Linked DNA regions of Homo sapiens: all the other regions are linked to region 1. Evidence: promoter capture Hi-C in human tissues and cell types (Jung and others, 2019). All regions are on one chromosome and are shown on one strand. The core of a region is centred on a gene start or on the middle of the fragment in contact, and the rest is flanking DNA. Distances in the headings are between cores, read along the strand shown. Region 1 holds the start of IDUA (alpha-L-iduronidase). Region 2 has its middle 68 kb from the start of ZNF732. Region 3 holds the start of SLBP (stem-loop histone mRNA binding protein). Region 4 holds the start of ZNF141 (zinc finger protein 141).

The links. The method cuts DNA at HindIII sites, captures the fragments that hold promoters and counts their contacts. A contact is called where the count stands out against the background at its distance.
Region 2: a fragment that was not itself captured here is called in contact with the fragment with the promoter of IDUA in region 1 in 1 of the 25 tissues and cell types used here (lymphoblastoid cells).
Region 3: a contact is called between the fragment with the promoter of SLBP here and the fragment with the promoter of IDUA in region 1, in 1 of the 25 tissues and cell types used here (dorsolateral prefrontal cortex).
Region 4: the fragment with the promoter of ZNF141 here is called in contact with the fragment with the promoter of IDUA in region 1 in 1 of the 25 tissues and cell types used here (lymphoblastoid cells).

The regions. Positions count from the first base shown.
Region 1 is chr4:985,345-989,094 of GRCh38, forward strand. IDUA (alpha-L-iduronidase) reads left to right here and starts at 1,700. Exons shown (of 14, transcript NM_000203.5): 1 at 1,700-1,898; 2 at 2,465-2,605. The coding sequence starts at 1,741. It overlaps SLC26A1 (solute carrier family 26 member 1), which reads right to left. Exons shown (of 3, transcript NM_022042.4): 3 at 2,313-3,750. The coding sequence ends at 3,489. RefSeq lists enhancers at 62-111, 1,287-1,346 and silencers at 1,557-2,206, 1,989-2,166. The HindIII fragment of the contact is 27,782 bases long and covers 1-3,750 here.
Region 2 is chr4:236,059-239,808 of GRCh38, forward strand. It overlaps the pseudogene ZNF876P. Among named protein-coding and RNA genes, the nearest start is that of ZNF732, 68 kb to the right of the region's middle. The HindIII fragment of the contact is 5,262 bases long and covers 1-3,750 here.
Region 3 is chr4:1,710,264-1,714,013 of GRCh38, forward strand. SLBP (stem-loop histone mRNA binding protein) reads right to left here and starts at 2,056. Exons shown (of 8, transcript NM_006527.4): 1 at 1,867-2,056; 2 at 1,611-1,727. The coding sequence starts at 1,925. RefSeq lists silencers at 1,433-1,552, 1,563-2,472 and an enhancer at 2,603-2,892. The HindIII fragment of the contact is 8,102 bases long and covers 1-3,284 here.
Region 4 is chr4:335,981-339,730 of GRCh38, forward strand. It overlaps ZNF141 (zinc finger protein 141), which reads left to right and starts at 1,834. Exons shown (of 4, transcript NM_003441.4): 1 at 1,834-2,006. The coding sequence starts at 2,004. RefSeq lists silencers at 544-603, 834-943 and enhancers at 958-1,473, 1,579-2,539, 1,584-1,683. The HindIII fragment of the contact is 20,671 bases long and covers 1-3,746 here.

The DNA of each region.
Region 1 (3,750 bases), core at 450-2,949:
GGCCTCAGAGGCTCCTCAGAGCTCCCAGTGCCCTGGACGGTTCCGTTCAGCGCTCTCCAGTTCTGATGGTTGCTCTCAGGAGGCGGCTGGTCTGAAACAATTCAGTTTCCATTGCTGTGTCCTGCACCACGGTGTGGGACTGGTGGTTTCTTACTGTTTTTCTCAGTTCTCTGACGCTTTGAGGAATTGTTTTTAAAGCGAGTTATCCATCATTTTAGTTGTTTTCTCTGGGGTCGTTGGACTGAGGGTCTTACCCCGCTGTTCCTGGAGACAGTTCTGTACTTGCATGGTTTCTCTCGCCTTTCCCTCCCTTTCTTACTTTTTAGTTTCTTAATGAATTTTTTTGTATTATGTTTTTCCTCCTTGCTAATTTGGAATATATACACACTATTTCACTTTTAAATGGCTAATCACTTTTAATGCAATTTCAACATAAGAAGACCTAATGTTAAGCAATATTTTAACCCCTCTCCCCAAAATAAAAAGACCCAGAACACTGTAACTCTAATTATCCTTCTCCCAACTTAGAGAGGATTATTGTCCAGTATTTTCGTTTTGTTAGTAGACTGTTCTTTTTTTCTTTTCTTTTTTTAGAGATGGGGTCTCATTTTGTCAACCAGGCTGGAATGTAGTGGTGTGATCATGGCCCGTCTCAGCCTTGAACTCCTAAGCTCAAGCAATCTCCCACCTCAATTTCGTGGGTAGCTGGGCCTCACAGGCATATACCATCGCATCTGGCTAAATTTTTTTTTTGTACAGATGGGGTCTTGGTACATCTCCCAGGCCGATTTCAAACTCCAGGCCTCAAGTGATCCTCCCGTGTTGGCCTGCAATTCCAAAGTGCTGGGATTGCAGGTGTGAGCCACCGCACCAAGCCTGTTCTTTCCATTATTATTTTTATACAATGTTTGCTTGGATTCACACATGCATACATGGACTACACATGTACTACAGTTGTCCCATGGTATCCTCGGGGTATTGGTTCCAGGACCCTCCCAGATACCAAAATTTGCAGGTGCTCAAGTACTTGATATAAAATGGCACAGTATTTGCACATTACCTACGCACATCCTACTGTGTAGTTTAAATCAAGATTACTTATAGTCCCTAAAACAATGTAAATGCTCTGTAAATAGCTGTTATACTGTATTGTTTTAAAATATGTATTATTTCGTATTGCTTTGGCTTTAAAACAATATTTTCAGTCTGCTTGGTTGAATCCATGGATCTGAAGCCAAGTGTAAGGAGGGCCCAGTGTGCTCTTCTGGGGTAATTCTCCTTCCTGCTAAAGCGCACGCTTTACTCAGGAGGCTGGGGTGAGAAAATCGCTGAAGCCCCGGAGATGGAGGTTGCAGTGAGCTGAGATCGCGCCACTGCACCTCAGCCTGGGCGACAAAGCAAGACTCTGTCTCAAAAACACACAAAAACAGAGAAAAACAAGACAGTAATGGCTCAACTCACATAGCACCAACGGGCGAAGCGTTCTTCTGAGCGCTTTCCGAGTCATCGGTCCTCAGAGCAGCCCCTGAGGCCCGCAAGGAAGCGGGGCTCCAAGCCCTGCCGTGCTCCCGGCTCCCCGAGGCTCCCCGAGGCCACCCAACCCCTCCCACCCGGCCATCGCCCCCTCACCAAGGCCCCGCCCCGCGGCGGCGGTCACATGGGGTGCGCGCCCAGACTCCGACCCGGAGGCGGAACCGGCAGTGCAGCCCGAAGCCCCGCAGTCCCCGAGCACGCGTGGCCATGCGTCCCCTGCGCCCCCGCGCCGCGCTGCTGGCGCTCCTGGCCTCGCTCCTGGCCGCGCCCCCGGTGGCCCCGGCCGAGGCCCCGCACCTGGTGCATGTGGACGCGGCCCGCGCGCTGTGGCCCCTGCGGCGCTTCTGGAGGAGCACAGGCTTCTGGTGAGCGCTCCGCGGCCTCCGGGACCCCCTGGCCGCACGGGGAGAGCTCGGGCGCCCCCTGACTGCGCACTGTGAGAGCTTCAGAGACCGGAGCTCCCTCCTCTGGGGCCCTGGCTCTCCCGGGCCCGCCCCCCGCCGTGTTTGTGGGTGGGTCCTCCACCTGAGTGGGCGCCGGGGCGTGAGCCTGGGCCGCCCCCTGCAGCCCAGGCCGATGCCCGGGATCCTGCTCTTTGAGGTAAACCAGGAGTCTCCCCTGGGAGTGGACGGCCCTGCAGCGGGACCTGGCCTGCCTGTCCCATTCCTTCCACCTAGAGCTGAGGTACCCGCCTTCCTGGCAGGGCCAGGGCCAGGGCTGGCGTTGGCCCCTCGTCTTACTGCTGCTGCCGTTCCCCATGAAGATGGGACCTCCCCACATTCCTGGCCCTAAGGGTCATTTTATTAGTCACTGAACGCACGGGCAGCGCCTGGATCCTGCGCCCGGGCAGTCCTGGGCTTGAACGTGTGTGTCAGCCGCGCTGCCAGCCATGCTGAGGCTCGGGACTGAGCCGCCCCTTTGTTGTCCCCAGCCCCCCGCTGCCACACAGCCAGGCTGACCAGTACGTCCTCAGCTGGGACCAGCAGCTCAACCTCGCCTATGTGGGCGCCGTCCCTCACCGCGGCATCAAGCAGGTCCGGACCCACTGGCTGCTGGAGCTTGTCACCACCAGGTGGGCGGCGGGCAGGGTCTGGGCGTCCCAGAGCCCCTTACAGAGGCACAGATGGGAGGGGAGGGCTGGGGGCTGCTCGGAAGACCCCTTGTTCCCCCACCTCCCGCCGAAGCACCCTGTTGGGGAGAGCGTGTCCTTGCTGGCTGTGCTGGGGTGAGGGCTGTGTGCTGGAGGGAGCCCCTGCATGGGGCACGGTGGGCTTCCTGCAGGTCTCCCTGCAGGCTCAGGGTTGGCTGCGCCGCACCTGGCTCCTGGTGCACCCGTGAGCATCCCTGTGTGTGTCTGCTGGCCAGGCTGGGTAGGGCCACTGCACCTGAGGGCTGAGCTGAGGTCTCATCGGTCACAGCACCCTGGGCCCTGACGCTGGTGCAGGTGGCCACCCTGTGAGGGGGAGGCACGAGGTGTGAGGGGCACTTGGGTGTGTGGGGCCTTCTGGAAACACAGAGACCCTCGTGCACTTGGCCAGAGCCGCTGGCTCCTACCAGCAGGGTGGGCACCGGGCAGGCCTGGGCATAGGGAGTCCTCTTGGCACCTTGGAGGCTGCATGATGGCGGGGGACCCTTGTTCAAATAAGATGTCAACCCTGAGCGTCAGGTCAGGCCCATCCCTCCTGAGCTGAGGGACGGTGCATTGGGGCCCAGCCAGCACTGTGGGCCAGCCTGTCTCGGAGGCAGAGGTTCTTGATTTCTGAGTGTTTGGGTCCTGCGTGTGATCAGAGGGCCTCCTTTCCCAGTTGGGGTTCCCCGGTTTCCCCAGGGCAGCTGTGGCACAAGAGTGCAGCTCTTGGGTGGCTCCTCCCTGGGAAGGGTCTCAGCAGTGGCTTGCAGACGTCTGCTGTGGGTCCCCAGGAGGGAGCAGAGGCTGCTGGGCAGGCCTGGCCCTGCTACAGATGGGCATCGGTGGCCTCCAGCTCCCTGTGGCGGGCTCGTGCTGTCTGCACGGCATCGTGCACACTGAGGAACAGCTGCTCCTCCTCAGCCGTGTCCCCGGGGCCCTCCCCGAGGAAGCCTCCTCTGCTCAGAATGTCTCTCACAGGCGGGCTGCAGCAGGCTAGCAGCAGGCTGATGCCCAGGGCCCCGTAGTCTCGGCGCAGGTCCTGCAGCGTGCTCACACCGGCTGCGTCTAGGAACAGCAGCGGGGCGCAG
Region 2 (3,750 bases), core at 365-2,864, 750 kb before region 1:
AGTTCGTAATTCATAAAGAATAGAATTTACTTAGCTCAGACTCCTGGATGCCAAGAAGTCCAAGAGCATGTCATTCCCATCTGATGAGAATCACATTTCCACATCACAACATGACCAAAGGGTTGAGGATGACAGAAGGTGTACACCAGTGCTCACTTTTATAATAGACCCACTCTCATGATGACTAATACACTGTGGTAATACTGATACTAATCCTTTCATGACAGTAGAGTGCTCATGACCTAATAACTCTTAAGGGCCTCATTTCTTAATTTTCTCACAATGTCAGTTAAATTTTAACATGAATTTTGGAGGGGACGCTCAAACTATAGCAATGTGTTTTTATTGGATAACTAAATCTTTATATATTTAAATGAATTACTGATTGATAAGAACTTACTGCCATTTTCTTACTGTTTTCTGACCATTTAGTAGTTTGTTTTTTCATTGTTTCATGCTGTCTTCCCCTGTATTTTCTTGAATTTTTGTTGTTTTTGTTGTTATATGCATTCTTTTTCTTTTGTGTGTAACCACTACAGTTTTTTTTGTAATTTCCAGGAAGCTTATGTAAAACATCTCATAGTTATAAAATCTAATTTCAGATAAGAATTTAGCTTTTGGTTTGTATAGATAGGGTCTTGCTTTGTTACCCAGTGTAGTGCAGTGGTACATTCATAGCTCAGTGCAGACTTGACCTCCCCAGGCTCAAGCAATCCTCAGCCTCCCAAGTAGCTGGGACTACAAGCACATGCCACCATGTCTGGCTAATTTTTTTAGTATTTTTTGTAGAGACAGGGTTTTGCCAAGTTGCTCAGGCTGGTGTTGAACTCCCGGGCTCAAGCAGTCCACCTGCCTTGGACTCCCAAAGTGCTAGTATTACAGGCATGAGCCATCAGGCCCAGCTGCTTCTTTTTTTAAAAGACTAAATAGCTTTCTGAGATCTTTATTTAATTTTATTTATGTACTTATTTAAGAGACAGGGTCCTGCTATATTGACCAGACTAGTTTTGAACTCCTGGCCTCAAGCAAAAGTTAGCTTCTATGTATAGAAAAATTAAACAATTTTACTCCCTTCAACATAGTATTTATGTCACACTCTACATCTTTTTATATCGTATACCCTTTAACAAATTATTGAAGCTATATGTAGTCTTAATAATTTTTTCTTGTAGCTTTTATACCAGAGTTAAATGTGATTAATTCATTCACCATAATTAGTTTTATAGCCTTCTAAATTCGACTATGTATATATGATTTTCAGTAAGATTTATAATTTTGTTGTAAGTTTGGATTCCATTACAACTTAAATTCTCATTAGCATTTGTTGTAAGTCAGGTCTAGTGATTAAAACTTTCAACTTTTTTTTAATCTGAGAAGATTTTGATACTTCATTTCTAAAGAACAGCTCTGTCAGGTATCGTCTTCTTAGTTGTCAAGGTTTTTTCTTTTTCTTCCTTCATTTGCATTTTAAATATATGGTTTCACTCCTGTGTGGCTTGCATGGTTTTTGCTGGGCAATCTGCTGATAACCTTATAGGAGTTCCCTTGAATGTGAAGAATCTCTTTTCTCTTGCTTTTTTTTTTTTTTTTTTACTTTTTACTCTTTATTTTAGGTTTTGCAGGCAAACCCCAGGTAAAGGGTTTTCTTTTTTTAATTTTAATTTTTGTGAGTATGTAGGACATGTATATATTTGTGTGGCACATGAGATGTCTTGATCCAGGCATGTAATGTGTAACAATCACATAATCAAAAATGGGGTATATCCATCCCCTCAAGCATTTATAATTTGGGTTATAAACAATCCAATTATGCTCTTTTAGTTATTTTAAAATGTGCAACTAAATTATTATACTCATACTGGGTATTACTCATTCTTTCTTTTTTTTTTCTTTTTTGTTTGTCTTTGAATTTTGGCAGTTTAATTATAATGTGTTCTGGACAATTTCTGTTAGATTCTTCTTGCTATAGACATTTTGAGCTTTTAAATTTAATATCTATATTCCTTCCAAGATTGGGAAGAATTTAAGACATTATATCTTTAAACAATTTAAAAATTTTTTTCTTTCTCATGAACCTCCTAAAATTGTACATCCTTACCATTGATTATGAAATATGGGGGACAAATGCTTTATTCACTCGCATTCTTTTTTTAAATTCTAACTAGGAACTTTCAAATAACTTTTACATTTGCTGATTTTTTTTTTCCTGTATAACGGAGTCTCCTGTTAAAGCTTTCTCTTAAATATTTTAGATCTCCTATTGTGTACTTCAGCTCCAGCATATCTAACTGGTTCTGTTTTAATGGTTTCTCTTTATTATAATTGTGATTCTGTTCATACGTTGTTGCAAAAAAAATTTAGTAATGTGTGGTTTTTTTGCATCTCATTGAGATTCTTTAAGATAATTATTTTGAATTCTTAGCCATTTTTTAGATCTGTGTTTTACTGTAAGTGGTTACTAGAGAATTTTTAGTTTCTTTTGGTGGTGTTACATTTGCCTGATCTTTCATGGTCTGTGATGCCTTGTTTTTATGTCCTTGCATCTGAAGGAGTAAATATCTCTTGCAGTCATTATAGATTAGTTTGGGGTGGTAAATATTTTCTCCTATTGGATCTCTGTGCTGATGAGATTTCCAGTGAGTTTGCAGTAAGGTGCATTGGATCTGGATCACAGTGAAGTTCATGCTTGGCAGACCTGTTATTAGGGCATCAGACTGTTGTGGATTCTGTCTATTTTCTAGGAAGACTGAACTTTCTTCAGGATCTTGATCAGTAAGACTGGTGCTGAGAAAAAAAAGTCTCCAGTTGTATATGCAGATGACAGAGCTGATATAATCCATGTGAGCAGGTATGGCTTCTGCTGTGTGGCTCTTGCTGGGTTTTTAGAAATCTTCTAACCCAGTCATTGGACAGATTCCTAGATGAGAAGTACTGACCCTTGGTCACAGCTGAGAGGGTGTGGAACTGATTCATAGGGCTGCTTCAGGATACACAGCTGAGACCAAAGTCTTCAGGTTTGTTTCTGGGTTCACGGCATTTCTCCCTCCAGATTCCTGGGTGGGCAGGACTGCTCCCAGACTTTAGTTGACAGGGACTGGAGGTAGGTTTTGGGACTGGAGGTAGGTTTTGGGACTGGAGCTGGGTTTTAGGACTGCTTCAAGATTCACAGTGGGAATAAAGTCAGCCAGCATGCCTACAGGGGCACATATAGGTGTGTTTTTTGGCAGGTCCCAGGTTAGGAAAAACTGCTTCTGGACTTTGGTTTCATGGACTGGGAGCCAGATGATAGTGCCACATCAAGATCCACCATTAAATAAATATCGGCAAGCCTACATCCAGGGGCACAGATGGATGTTTCTGTCGGTTCCTGCATGTGCAGGATTTCTTCCACATCATGATAGATGTGTGCAAGGGGCTAATTAGGAGACTACAGAGAGGAGCAACATCTAAAGTCCTTTCACCTGAGACACAGGACATTATGAATCCTCCTTGGTGTCTTGGCAGATGGTGCTAGTGGCATAAACAAAACCAAATGGCCTACAGCTATACTTACAATGAGAATTAATCATATTTTATTTTGTAGCTGGGACTATGATGGGCAAGCATGCCACTCAAGCAAGGGCATGCCCTCTCAATACAGCCCTCCTGTCTTGGGTTTACACCTTTTGACATGGATTCCAAAGTTCCTATAAAGGTTCATTTGCCAGGGCATAACTGCTGCATTTTTTTATAACCATATAAGATTTAGGT
Region 3 (3,750 bases), core at 806-3,305, 730 kb after region 1:
CCGTTACCTTTCTTGACATCTCCTTTGCTTCTCTAAGCAGCTTCTCAAGCCTCACAACTTCCCATGCCTAGCTGCTCCAGCCCATCTTCTCTATCTTAGCAAATGGCCCCAATCAACAGCGTTCAGACCTAAAGGCTTGAGTCATTCTTGATGCCTCTTTCCTGTGTAAACCAAAAAGTGTCTGAGACAGGTCTCAATTGCTTTAGGAATTTAGCTAATGTTAAGGACATACCTAGAAGAACACGAAATTACAGAAAGAGTCTGTGGTCTGTGCCTTTCTCCAGAGATGACTGTCAGGGCTTCAATATTTAAAAGAGAAAAGTAGGTTGAAGGAGAAAGATCTACATGTTCCAAGAGAAAAGGAGCAGGTAGGGGAATAGTCAATTATGTATTCCTAGTGTGCTCAGTAAGTCGCCACTTAAAGTGAACAGAGTTCACCCGTGGAGATATTTAATCTTGTATCTGTAGGTATCTGCTTAGAAAAAAAAAAAGAAACACAAAGGTGGCCGGGCGCGGTGGCTCACACCTGTAATCCCAGCACTTTGGGTGGCCAAGGTGGGTGGATCACTTGAGGTCAGGAGTTCGACACCAGTCTGGTCAACATGGTGAAACCCTGTCTCTACTACAAATACAAAAAGTTAGCCGGGCGCGGTGGCATGCGCCTGTAATCCTAGCTGCTGGGGAGGCTGAGGCAGGAGAATCACTTGAACCCGGGAGGGGGAGGCTGCAGTGAGCCAAGATCGCGTCACCGCACTCCAGCCTGTGAGACAGAGTGAGACCCTGTCTTTAAAAAAAAAAAAAAAAAAAAAAAAGTAACGCAAAGGTAGTTTCTTGCATGATTCCGCGCTCAGCATAATTTTTTCCTTTTGGCACAGTGAAGTTGGGTCCGATTTTTTTTTTTCCTTTCACGCCTCCCATCCCCAACCCATCAGCAAGTCTCACAGGTCCTGCCTTCAGAAGCCTATCCCGAACCACGCATTTCCCTCCACCTTCACTGCTCCATCTCGGCCAAGTCACCACGCCTTTCAGGGAACTCAGGAGCAACAAGCCCCCAGTGCGGGACGAGCCACCCCAAAGCCCCTCGAGAAGTTTTCTCTAACCACAGCCCCGAAAAGCCCCGCCACTACGACCACTGGCACCCCTGCTTATTTCCTCCAGACCCTCCTCGGCCGTCCCACCCCATCAAGCCCTCCTTTCGCTCGCATCTCCACCCTCCCTGCACACTGCCTAACCCAGAAAATGGCCAAGCAGGTAAGCCCTGTCAACTCACTTCTCCTCGGGACTCGGGTGTCCCTGACTTCCACGTGTTCACGAGAAGCTCGTCAGAGACCCTGACCTCTCCCGGGAGCACAACACAGACTCGAACTGGCTAACTCGGGCTGACGCCGGTTCAGCTGACTCCCATCCTGGCAAGAGGCTTCCGGAGTGTTCCAGCGCCTCCCAGGCCTGCTGCGGCCGCCCCAGTCCACGGGCCGCGCGGAGACCAAGATAAAAGGACGCAGGGTGCCGACCTGACCGATCCCGGCACCGCGAGAGCGCGACGAGGTCCCTGGAGCCCGCGGCCTCGTCAAGGGCCCCACCGCGCCCCGACCCCCGGGTCCCGCGCCCACCTCTCGGGTCTGCGCTCGGCGCCGCGGTGCTCTGCCTCCTCGGCGTCTTCGGGCCTCCAGCGCCTGCCGTCGGCTCTGCGCTTCCGTCCCAGGCTCCATCGCGCGGGGGACGGCGGGCTGCGGGGAGGGACGCGGTCGGCTGGGCACGGGAGGTTCGGGACCGCCTTACAACCTCCGCCCTCCCACACCCCGGCCCCGCACAACCCCCGCCCCACGGGGCACGCGCTCCCTCGCCCGCCGCGCAGCCCGGCCTCACCTGGCGTCACCGTCGCAGCGGCTCTGATGCCTCGGCGGGCTTCGCGGGCGGCAGGCCATGGCAGCACGGGCCGGGCGCGCAGCGCAGGGCCGAGGCTGAGGCGGCGGCGGCGCGGGCAGAGAGCGCAGAGTAGAGCAGGGCAGGGCCTGAGGCAGAAACCCGCGTCCCCGCGCCGGCGCTCACGAGCTCTGCGCGCCCCGCCCCCAACCGCCTTTATGTGGGCGCCGGGCCCCGCCCCTCGGCCTCCCGCGCGCGCCGGGTCGGGCGAGACCATCGGGCCACGCCGCAGGGGTCCACTCAGCTGTGCGCGCCTCGCGAGCCGACTGGGGCTAGGGCGAGGCCTCGGGACCGCGGGCAGCCGCGAAGCCCGACTGCCCGGCCCTCGGCTCGGGAGCCAGATGGACGCCGTGGGCTGAGGAGAGGCCTGAGGAAAAGGTTGCCCCCACCCGCGGGATTGAGGCGGCCGGGCCGCCGCGGGCCTCTGCGACGCTGATAGGTCGCGCCTTGGCGGGCGGGGGCAGCTTTGGCGGGAGATTCGGCCGCGCGCGACGCGGCGCAGGTCGTGGGGGAAGGGTAAGCGGCACGTTTCTCGGCCTGGGTCGTGGCGCATCTCCCATTGGTTCCGGCCTGGGTGGAGCGCGGCTCTGCTTGGTTCCTGCCCAGGTGGGGGCGTGTCTCCTCCCTGGCGGGAACCCGGAACCCGGAACCCGGAAGGCGCGGCCTGTGGCGGGTACTGACTGCTTCCCACGGTCCCGTGGCCGCTGCAGGCCCCGTACGCGCCGTCTATTGTTTTGAGCCGCTTAAAGTTTTGGAGTAACCTTTTAGGTCGCAACAGTTGACAACTACACTGAGTCTTTCCGGTCCCACTGCCCTGGCCGTTGACCGCACACCGGCCACCGACTGAGCCGCTAGTTTCGGTTGCCGCTGCCTCCCTGCCCGTCCATGACGTCCTCCACTGTGTCGCCGGTGCATGACGCTCCCACCCTCTGCCTGGAGTTGACTGGGTTTGTATCCTGAAGAATCCCTGGCTCAGCAGGTAGGTTCCACCTGGAGGCGAGGTCCTGTAGATCCGCACCATCCCGTCCCGCTTCCCCGCCGTCACAGTTGCAGCTGACGGCCCCGCGGATCCAGCCAACTAGAACCCCAACGGGTGCACTACACCTGAGAACAGGTTCCCACAGCTTCCTGTTGGGGACAACGTGAGGGATGCAGGGGAGAGTGGAACCAGCCAAAAGAGTGGGCAGTGGGGTCAGGTCCAGGAGGCTGAGCCCCAGGGATGCTTGGGATCCCTCTAAGGCCTTACACCTCTGGGAGGGCCGGACTTTTGCACCTGCTGCCCTCAGGACTGTGCCTTGGTGCGTCCACCGCCCCCTTTTGAACTCAAAAAAGTCATCCTCAGACTAGGACGGACACATCCTGTCCCCTTCCTCCCCAGGCCCTGGGCATCCCATAACCCTCAACACTGTAAACTAAAAATAAAATCCTGGCAGGGCGCGGTGGCTCATGCCTGTAATTCCAACACTTTGGGAGGCCGAGGCGGGAGGATCATCTGAGGTTGGGAGTTCGAGACTAGCCTGACCAACATGGAGAAACCCTGTCTCTACTAAAAATACAAAATTAGCCTGGCATGGTGACGCATGCTTGTAATCCCAGCTACTCGGGTGGCTGAGGCAGGAGAATTGTTTGAACCCGGGAGGCAGTGGGCTAAGATTGCACCACTGTACTCCAACCTGGGCAACAAGAGCAGAACTCTGTCTCAAAAAAAATTAAAATCCTAAGCCCCCAACAACTGAATGGACCCCCTTGCGGTCAAGGGGACACCAGTGGCAATAAGATACCAAATTATGAATAGGACCTAAGGTCATGCCAGGCAAGGGTTAAGTC
Region 4 (3,750 bases), core at 584-3,083, 650 kb before region 1:
ATTTACCGATGGTGACTGTGTGCATGACGCCATAACATGTTACACTATTAACTCACTTAAGGGACTCCATGAGGCAGGTACTGCTATCTTCACTTTACAGAGGACACTGAGCACAGGCAAGTAACTTCCCCATGGTCACACAGCTGGAAATAGCAGAGCAGCTGGGATGTGCACCCAGAGTCTGTGTACTTAGCCACAGTGCAATCCTGCATAACTACAAAACAAACTTATGTGTGTGAGCATCTATCCGCCCAAGCAGACAAGTGTCAAACTACGCGAATGCTGTCCAAGCACTGCGTGAGCATACACTTCTCTGAAAGCGTTCTGCTCATCAACAGGGCCAGCCAGTGACTTTTCTGATCGCTTAATGCACCTATCCAGTCTCTTCACAGGCGGCTCCTGGGGTCTGCCGGGGGTGCTGGCGTCGGGTTGGCCCTGGCGCTGTCCCCAGCCCCCACTCCCCAGGCCCTGCAGCGCCATGAGGTCGGACTCCTGGGCGTGTCCTGGGTTCTGACCCACCCGCGACGCCAGCTGCCCGCGCCCGGAGCGGATGGGCCTGGCCCGGCTCCACCCCGCGGGGCTCCGCGGCTCAACGGGTCGCCCAGGGGCGCGGGCCCGGCTTCGTCCTCGACGGTGTCCGCCCCGGCCCTGGCTAGGCCGACGGCAGCCGGGTCCGGGTGGGGCTCGGGCTCGGGGCGCGCCCCTCCCATCTCTCCAGGGTCCGCGTCCTCGCTGCCGCCAGGTCCCGCCGAGATCCCCGGTGGCCCCGGCTCCAGCGGCTGCAGCGTCGCCATCGCCGGGCAGACCCCGGCCGACCTCAAAGCGACCGCGCGGTGGGGCCGGCGGGGACTGGGGCTGCGCAGCGCGGCCTGGGGTGGGGGCGGCGGGGCCCCCAGGAGCTCCTGGGAACCGAGGGTCCTGGGGCGGTCCCGCCCCGCACAGCTCCGGGTGAGCTTGGGGAGGGAGACACACTCTCAGCCCACCTCGCCCCGCCCGACAGCGCTCCGAGTCCTGAGTCCCCTCACCCCCATTCTACAGACACGAAGGTGAAGCCAAAGACGGGACGCTCACTTCCTGAGAATTTGCTGCCTGCTGCGTGGACACCACCGACCTATTGTTTACAGCGGTCAGGGACCCGCCCCCCAGACCCCCAGGACCGCGCTTCCGGGGGAGGAGGGTGTCCTCAGCAACGGTGACCCGCACCAAAGCCCTCCTCACCGGGGTCACCGCCACAGCCGGTGCGAGGCCCGCAGGGCGCTGGGGATGCGCGACCGACTCCCGTGAACCTGCTCCTCGCGCGTCAGGGAGAGCTGTGCACCCAACTAGGCTCTGTGAGGACGGACTGAGGTCGGCCTGCAGGCTGCGGCCCCGAAGGCAGGATTTGTGGAGAGATGATTCGCGAGCCTTGGAGGAAGGATGGGCTGTGCGTGCGTGGGTGCGTGCGTGTGTGTGTGTGTGTGTCTGTGACTTTTGTATGTTTATGTGAGACTGCGTACGTGCGCGCGTCTGTGTGTGCGCGCGCGCGTATATGTCTGTGTGTGTGCGTGCGTGTATAATTTCTAAATGGACGTCACCTTACACATCACAAGGTTAAAAAATGACCCCTGGGCTGTGCCAGGCCAAGCACGAAGAGAAAGCCCCGCCTGAAACTGCCTGGAGGCCCCCCGGCTGTCACTCTCGCCACATTCCGTGGAGTATGTGGTTGCAACTTCTGTCACTCAAGGTCTGATGGCGGGGAGATTGGAGCCGTATCCAATCAGCGCACTGGAGTGAAAACTGCCCAATCAGGCACGCAGCCAGAGAGGAGGCGGTGGCTTCCGGGATGTGGCGCGGGTCTTTGCGTCTGGCTACTACCAGACCGCGGGTTAGGGGCTTCATCTCTCTGCGTTCTCAGTTGTGGGAGGCCTTGGTGATTCGGCCACAGCTCAGCCTCCGTCGCTCTGTGACCTGCGGGTATTGGATGATTGGTAGCTAAGACTCCCGAATACTTCAGAAGTGGGGAAATGGTGAGTGTGCGGGGCAGGGCGTCCCAAGGCTGAGGAGGTCTCATCGGAGCTGGCGGGAAATGGCGGCGGGACCGAGTCTGCGAACGGAGTCCCCGCTGCCGCCGCTCAGCCCTGGGGCCTCAGTACCCTCCGGTGAGGGACCTGGGCTCCTGTCGGTCCCCGCACAGCGGCTCTGGCCCAGCCTGCAGCCCTCCTTGTGCAGCTCTGCGCCCGCAGCCCCGCACCTTCCCCAGGCTGTGGGGTGAGGAGTAGCTTATCTGGAAGCCGCCCGCGCGGCGTGCGCGATGCCGGCGTGGGAGGAGCTGTGGGAGAAGCTGTGGTCTGGGGATCCCGTCCCTGCTTTACCCTGTTCGGAATGAGATCGAGGCCCCATCAAAACAGAGTTCATGTGAGCAAATGGGGACTCATTAATGGGACAGCGCCGGCCGTGGCTCGTGGTTTGGGGGCTGCCAGCGGGTCTTGAAGGAAAAGCTTTTGTGAGGTGTGTGAGGAAGCGAAGCAAATCACCCGCCCGCTCCAACTTGCCCACCAGTCTCCTTGCCCTGTGCGCCTCCTCCGCGTGGCTGTTCCTGAGTGGCATCTTTTAGAATACGCTAGTGTGGGCGCGCACAGCGCTTCGCTGAGTTCTGTGAGTAGTTCTGTCATATTATTGAACTTGAGGAGGGTGTGGGCCCCTGGTTTGTAGACAGGTGTTCAGAAATGAAGACGGGTGTCCAGAGGCAGGGACTGGCGTCTGCAGGGGGGCAGCTGCGGGAAGAGCGCTGAGCTTGTGGGGTCTGTGCTGACTCCGGGTGGTGTCGTTAGTGAGTTGTTGGACAGCCCGTTGGGGTCGGAGCATTGACTGGTGTTGAGCAAACTCCTCACGTTTCCTGTCAGAAGAAAGACATGGCTGAGCCTGGGCTGGAGGGAGTCGCAGGTGTCCGCGGGAGACCAGCCGGGTTCTGCACATGCACTGTCCTGCTGCGCACTGTTCTGTTCCTCCAGGTCTCCTCCCGGGGAGAGAGGGCGCTGAGAACTTGGAGGAAAGGAGTTCTGAGAAACATCCCTTCCCTGCACCCTGCTGCCAGCCCCCACCCAATGCTAACCCACTCCTGAGCCCGCCCATTGGGCATTCGCACGGCCACACTTGTCCCAGGACAGGGTTCTACCCTCAGGAATTGTGCCCATGGCAGCTTTGCTCCTAGGTTTTTCTCCCAAGAACACACACAGTGCCCAGAAGACTCCTGGTTCATTTTAACCCCAGATCTGTAGCAGGAATCTGTTTTCTTCACCCACCCAGGCTTTTGGACCACCTGATCCTAATCTCCTCTGCCTTTATGGGCTCAGGAATCAGTTAGAGCTTAGCCCTGCCTGGGCCTGAACTTGTAGCACAAACCAGTCCTTTCGTCAATCCTGCCTTGCCCCCACTCAAGGCTCTTGATAGCACCTTTCTTCTGCTCTTTTCTTCCCCACAAATCCTCTTTCCTGTGCACACAGTTTGCTCAAGTGCATCCCTCATGTGCTACAAGAATTCAACGTTAGTGAGTTCAAGACCATGCCTTTAGACCTGCCTGTTGTAGGACCAAATACAAATCAGAAGAGGCTTAATGCTTTCTCTTTAGAATGAGGAAAGAATTTTTACTCTTCTCCCTTAAAGCATTTAGTTTGAAAACTTTTATATTTAAATATTTTCTCTGCTTCTTTGAAATATATATAACTCATTTTAATCTGTTAACTAGGTGATTTGTCTTTTTTGACTCAAAAT